Regions from separate parts of the Homo sapiens genome. Here region 2 is linked to region 1. Evidence: promoter capture Hi-C in 16 types of primary human blood cells and fetal thymus (Javierre and others, 2016). All regions are on one chromosome and are shown on one strand. Each heading gives the region's core, a stretch centred on a gene start or on the middle of the fragment in contact. The rest is flanking DNA. Distances are from core to core; before and after follow the strand shown.

Evidence for each region. Contacts are between HindIII fragments. The CHiCAGO score rates a contact against its expected background, and 5 or more counts as called.
Region 2: a contact is called between a fragment that was not itself captured here and the fragment with the promoter of MARCHF3 in region 1, in 6 of 17 cell types (naive B cells, erythroblasts, total B cells and 3 more). The highest score is 13.7, in naive B cells.

What each region holds. Positions count from the first base shown.
Region 1 is chr5:127,029,122-127,032,496 of GRCh38, forward strand. It overlaps MARCHF3 (membrane associated ring-CH-type finger 3), which reads right to left and starts at 1,437. Exons shown (of 5, transcript NM_178450.5): 1 at 1,229-1,437. LOC105379163 (a long non-coding RNA gene) reads left to right here and starts at 2,222. Exons shown (of 2, transcript XR_007058920.1): 1 at 2,222-3,375. RefSeq lists a silencer at 1,399-1,778 and an enhancer at 1,775-2,319. The HindIII fragment of the contact is 7,560 bases long and covers 1-3,375 here.
Region 2 is chr5:126,899,335-126,902,766 of GRCh38, forward strand. All of the region lies in intron 3 of MARCHF3 (membrane associated ring-CH-type finger 3), which reads right to left. Among named protein-coding and RNA genes, the nearest start is that of LMNB1, 120 kb to the left of the region's middle. The HindIII fragment of the contact is 2,260 bases long and covers 320-2,579 here.

The DNA of each region.
Region 1 (3,375 bases), core at 187-2,686:
ACAGCTCAGAGGATCCATCTCTGTGACCCAAGGGAAGTTCAAGGCTGAATTTCCCCTTCATATATTTACCTCATTCACCTTTTAATTTTATATATACACACACTCACACATATACACGTATGTATGTGTGTATATGCGCATCTACATCTTCATATACACATACAGAACTATATATCTCAACATTTTCATGTATTTTCAAAGGTCTAAACATCCCCAAATTCTGGACCTGTTTCTGTCTAGTATTTTCAAAAGCTCTTATTCATGTCAAATAAGAATTGTAAGAAAATATCGTATTGAATTCTGTTTATTCCGCACATAATATAAACTACATGCATGTAGTTGGTCTCAGAAAAACAAGCTGCTTTTACCCCCTTACCATTAAGGGGGGAAAACAATCTAACCCAGACCGAGTCACAAACGGAGTGTCAGGTTTAACCTTGAGTTCTCTGCTGTCAATTCCTGACTCAACTTCATCACTTAAACACGCAGGTGCTCAAACAAACACCAACCGACCAGGCTGGCAATCCCTTTCGCAGCCTCTAGGATTCTCCAAGGCACTGGGCACCAGAACCGACAGCAGCTCCCGCCTGGTCCTAACGAAGTCCTTCGGACACCCCTTGCGGGTGGATGTGGAGGTCCGAGCACCTCAGGAGGGTCATGGATTCAAGTGCTAATAGAAAGCAATTACTTTAGAAAGTTCAAAGCCCAGCAGTGCTCTCAATTCCTCTCAGTAGCTGCAGAGCACTGAAGCCCCCGCTACAGAACCCGGCTGGTACTCCAGTTCTCTGGCGCTGAGACCCACCTTGAGCCCGATGAGCGCTCGCTCAGCCTTGAGATCCAGACGCGGACGCCGGGTCTTACCGTACCGCACAGCGCGGGTAATTTTTCAGGAACCGCGGTCCGCACGCCGCGGGCGCGGAGGCCGCCCCAGCGCTCCATGTCGTTGCCGCAGAGGGGCAGGGGACGCGTCCCGGCCCCACCTACCCATGTCAATTACGCCAAGTTGGTGCGGACTGGAACCGCGTCCCGGGCGGAGTTGGGATGCTTTGACAAGAAGAAGTTCGGGAGTGGGGATATTGGCACGGAGTAAATCCCGCCCAGCCCTGACCTCCCCACAGCGGTCACGCTCGGACGAACGGACCGCCGAGCGCCAGGACGCGTCCCGTCCCCTCTCGCCGCCGCCGAACCGCGCCGAGAGGAGCCGCTAGCCCGGCGCGCGGCCACTCACCGTCCTCGCCGAGTCCCGATAGCAAACCGACGTCCCTGCTGCGGTTCTAAGTGCCAAGTTGCCCCCAGTCGGTGGCTGCTCACGGCCCAGTGGACCAGGGCACATTGGTTCCGGCGGGCACCTCAGGGGGAGTGCGGCAAGCCTGGCGGCCGCCGCGGCCACACAGTCGCCCACAGCGCGCTGACAATTCACGGACCTGCTCAACGAGTGAGGCGGAAAGCAGGGCTAAGCCGACCAGGCTCTGGAGGGGAGGCGGGGCTGCCGCTAGGGGCGGAGCCAGCCCCGGGGCGTCATCAGCCCATGACTGGCGGAGCCGACAGCCAGTCGTGGTGGCGCTGGGACCGCCCCGTAACCGCCGTCCAGTCGCCTGCGGCCGAGGGCAGGCTGGCGGGACGCGCCGGCGGCGGGGAAGTTGGTTATTGCGAAGTGCCGTGGCTGCCGGCGGGCGCTGCGGGACTCTCTGCAATGGGACCCGAGCAGCTCTAGAGGGAGGCGGCGGCCCCAGAAGGCCGTTGGCTGAGAGAGACCAGGAGCCCTCGGAGCCGCCGCGCGCATAGCGCTGTGGAGCAAGAAGCCAACCGCAGCGCGGGTCGACACGCCAGTATCTGGCACCGGCAGGAGGCGCGGAACTTAGCTGCCCCATCGGAACCCCGCCCGGAGGAAGCTGAGGGCCGAGAAAGGATGAATTCCGGACCGGGTCGCCCAGCCACAAGTGGAAACCTGGGCTCTCTGGAAAACGTTCTGATCTCGATCTGGCTATCTCTGAAACAAAACTCCAGCCCCGCAAACCTCCCAAAGTTCAGTACACGTCCCCGTCCTCACCCCTGCCCTCCGGGCCACCTGCAGCGGGGGACTTACCGGCGCCTCGGGTCTCCTCCTCCCGACCCAGCGCGTCGCGGACACAGCTGGCGGCCAACAGGAGGCTTGGGCGCTCGACGGCGCCGGAACCTGTGAGACCGTCGCTCTGGGCGGGCTGCCGTGCGGGGTGGCATCCTCTGCGGTGACTTCTGCTGTCTTTTGGGTCCGCCAGGATTCCAAAATCCCAGGCGGGTCGCTAGAATTATCCATCTTCGTGGACAGGAAGCCCCAGAACGAACCACATCTGTCCCACTCTGCTTCCGCCCTCCTTCCCCTTCGCAAGCTCCTGGCTGGGATGGAGACATCGGACGAGCTCGGAGATCCCGACCTCTCAGGGGTCACTCGCAGCCGAACAGCCTGGAATATGGCCTTGTGGGCCCTTCCCGCCCAACCCCCTAGGACCCCACTGCTCATCTTGTCAACCAGTTTCTGAGCCCCTACCCTGGCTGCAGCACGTGCTCGCACAGGCGCGCTGAGCTACTAACATAGAATCAAAAGCAGGGAGTTGGGTGTTCTTGCTTTCCCGCTGAAACCTAGAATGTAAACAAGCCCTAGACCGTCAGCTGTGGGTGGGTAGGGGCCTCTCCCTGCCTAGAACTGCTCTTGCCATGGGTAGGCACCTAACCCGTATTAGTAAGAATGAAGGAATGCATGCTCATAACAAGAAAGGGGTCAACCTGCTGCCCTGATACTCACCTTCACCACTTACGTCTTGCTTCCAGCGCAAGCCCACTTCAGACCATTGCCTCATTCAGGTCCCAGAAGTCCTAAGGGTTTTAGTCTCTCAGTATGGGCAATTATTCACATGTAAGGGAGCTGCAAGGTGTTATTTCAATGCCATCTGGCCTCTATAAGGTCTTGCATCATAGCTGACCTCTCATGAGAAGGTTCTGATGAGGTCACCAGGGAGAAGGAATGTAAAGGGCTGGTGGCTGAAAAGGAGTGAAATGGCCCCTCTTAGGTGAGCTCTGGCCTGGTTTGAGTTTCAATTCTGTCTCCTCAGCTCCATTTCTCAATGGGAAAAGGTCCATAGGAAGGTTGTCAGAAGGGCAGGAGACTAGGGCAGGGATAGCCCTTTGCAGACCCTGAAAAATTGCTCAGTAATGCAAACATTGTCCATATTTAAGTTCTTTCTTTTCTTTTCTTTTTTTTTTGAGGCAGAGTCTCACTCTGTCGCCCAGGCTGGAGTGCTATGGCTTGGCTCACTGCAAGCTCCGCCTCCTGGGTTCACGCCATTCTCCTGCCTCAGCCTCCCAAGTAGCTGGGACTACAGGCGCCCGCCACTACGC
Region 2 (3,432 bases), core at 200-2,699, 130 kb before region 1:
TCCTTTCTGGGTTGCAAAATAAGGTTTACCAATCTGAATTATCTTGATGGTAGTTTTAAAGAAATTTGTCTCACAAGTGTGTACAGCCACATGAGGACTGATTAACCTTCACAACCATTCGTGAAAGGAGGGAAAGGTTTCTGACAATTTTGGATTAAAAGATTCCTCCTAAGGAATTGGTAACATAATGACTCAGTAAACTGAAGACTCAAATGCAGAGGAAGAGTAACTAAATGAGAAGAAAAAAAGAAAGGCTATGTAAAGTCACTTGAAAATGAAGAATGATTTTTCTGGCTTCTGATAGGGTGCTGTAGCCAAAAGCTTTGCTTTCCAACTAGAGTACAAAGAGACACAGGAAAGAAGTGCCACTCTACTCTTCCAGCACTTGATCTGGCACAGCTCAGGGTGTTTTTTAAAACAGACTTTATTTTTTAGAGCAGTTTTTGGTTCACAGCAAAATTGAATGGAAAGCACAGAGGGTTCTCATATATCCCTGTCTCCCCCTGTCCCCTACAGTCCCCTCTACTGTCAACAGCCCACACCACAGTGGTACATGTGTCACTAGTGATGAACCTACCTTGACACATCATCACCAAAGCTCATGCCTTACATTAGAGTTAACTCTTGTGTTGAACGTTCTATGGGTTTTGATATAATGACATGAATCCACCATTATAGTGCAGACTAGTTTCACTGCCCTAAAAATCCTCTGTGCTCCACCTTTTCATCCTTCCCTCCTTGCTAACTCTCTGATTTAATAGACGAATCTGGTGTCAAGAGGAAATAAGGGCTTTACTCATAATTTTTTTTTCCATCTTCCCCCTTCTGAAGCACATGTAGTTTCTTGGAAAGGCTTATCGGCAAAGAAACCCTCAGCTCTATGTGTGCATAGGTTCATGCCAATGAGCAAATGCAAGAAAGTACTTTAGAGCCAGGAAGGAAGCCAGGTGCAATGGTCTGAATGTTTGTGTCCTCCAAAATTCATATTTTGAAATCCTAACCCTCAAGGTGATGGTATTAGGAAGTGGGGCCTTTGGGAGGTGATTAGGTCAGGAGGATGGAGCACCCATGACTGAGATTTGTGCCCTTACAAAAGAGACTCCAGAGAACTAGCTCTTCCCGTCTACCATGTGAGGACATAGACAGAAGTTGGCAGTCTGCAACCAGGAGGAGGACCCTCACTAGAACCCAACTATGTCGGCACCCTGACCTTGGACTTCCCAGCCTCCAGGACTGTGAGAAATACATTTCTGTTGTTTATAAGCCATTCAGTTTACAGTATTTCATTTATAGTAGCCAGAATGGACTGGGCCACTAGGTGTGGTGGAAAGAACGTGGGCTTTGGAGATAGACCTGGATTCTTCTTTAATTTTTTTTTTTTTTTTGAGATGGAGTCTCACTCTGTTGCCCAGGCTGGACTGCAGTGGCATGATCTCAACTCACTGCAACCTCTGCTTCCTGTGTTCAAGTGATTCTCCTGGCTTAGCCTCTCAAATAGCTGGGATTACAGGAGCCTGCCACCACGCCCAGCTAATTTTTGTGTTTTCAGTAGAGACAGGGTTTCACCATGTTGGTCAGGCTGGTCTCGAACTTCTGATCTTAGTCACGTGATCCACCCGCCTCAGGCTTCCAAAGTGCTGGGATAACAGGCATGAGCCACCGTGCCTGGACCACCTGCATTATTCTTTTGCCTTCTCCACTTACTAGCCCTGAGGCTGAAAGTATTTAAGATCAATGAAGAGTGACTTAGGTCTGAGTTGCAGCTTCCTTATCTACAGAATACGATAATATCTGCTATGAGAAGGATACCTGAGACATTGAAATAAGATGATTATATAAAGTGTATACAAGCACAACATAACTTTCTTCTCACATATCCATCACAGTGCAAATCTAACCCCTTAACTCTGTAAAACTAGATTGCAAAGAATATTGCATGTAATATTTTTCCTTTGCCTCAGAAATGGGTAAACAAAATTTAAGAAGAAAAAACTCTGGGGTGTGAACATCTTGATAAACATAGATGGACTCACGTTAATTAATGCCACTGGACTGGAATCAAGATCTGTGCCTATTCTGGAAAGTAAAATTCTTTGCACAAACAGGCATAGCAGGTCTCATTCAGTGAATAAACAACCACCGATCTCCCTGTGCCTAACTGAAGATACTTCTCTCTGCTCACTCGTTTACAACTGATTGTTAGGCAGTGTGAGGGATTAGCTATAATCATGTATTGTTCTCAATATTTCACACATTAGTCATTTAAAACTATGTATTCTTTCTTTGGAGTTAAAAGTCAGTTGTTGACACTTAAAACTGAAGATGCTTGTGGAGGGCTGGCAGGAGCCCTCAGCAGGGAGCGTTATGCATATTCTATAACTCTGCTTCTGAAATCTGCACCAGGGCTTCTGCAATTTATGTCTCCCTTCAGCTCAACCAGGTGCCTTGTACCCAACACAGGGCAATTCCTGAGAGTTAATTGTGCCTTGTTATTTCAGCAGGACTTAGGATGAAGGTGATTACCAGCTGTAGTTATTCAGTGACATTTCAATTCTCCTCTCTCAGACTCCCCCTTACAAAGCTTTTCTGCCAGCAGCCCAAGACACCTTGACTTCCACCACCCCAACACCCATGGAATAACTTCTAATTGTCTGCCTTTCAAAGAAGTGAACTCCATAGCTGTCAACATTTGCTGTACTAATTGTTTGTACATTTGGAGTTAGCTGAAAGGGTCCGGAATCTTTCAAGATGATCTGTCTCTTCTGTTAACTTCCTCTTATTCTTGGTCCACATGTGCTTAAGGAAAACCTGGCTGGATTTCCTCCCTATTTGAGAACACCTAGGGATGAATCAGTGAAGACCACGGTTTTCTCCCTGGCCCCAACAGGCTATTCCTTTGAAGGCGTTTGTTAATTCTGGGTAGTGAATACACACCTGTTTGTTATAGTATTCTTTGTCCTCTTCTGTATTTTTAAAAACATAGATTAAAATGAACATGTTATATGAAGCAATTATTGGTGTTTTGCATCTTTGTGTTTCTGCTCACAGAAGTCCTTGGAAAGATGAAGAGGGCTGCTATCAAGGTGGACAGAGGTCCTCTTGAGAATGTGGGTTCTCATTTGTATCCAACCCAAGTTCACAGCAAGGATCAGAACAATTGAAAATAACAGAATCTGGTTATGGAATTCTTTTTATACACAGAACTGGATTTTCCCTCCAAATTAATCCTTTACCAGCAGTGGATGGGCTAAAAACACAGACACTGAGCAGTTAGCTCACTTCCATCTGGCACGGTCATGTGAACACTTCGGTTGGTGGTTTGCTTTTTTAATGAAGTGATTTTTAATGAAGCAAGCTGTGAATTTAATAGATACCTTCAAACAGCTTCTTTGTATTTAAGCTTTAAGTAACAAAGCAGCTGTCAAATTTGCC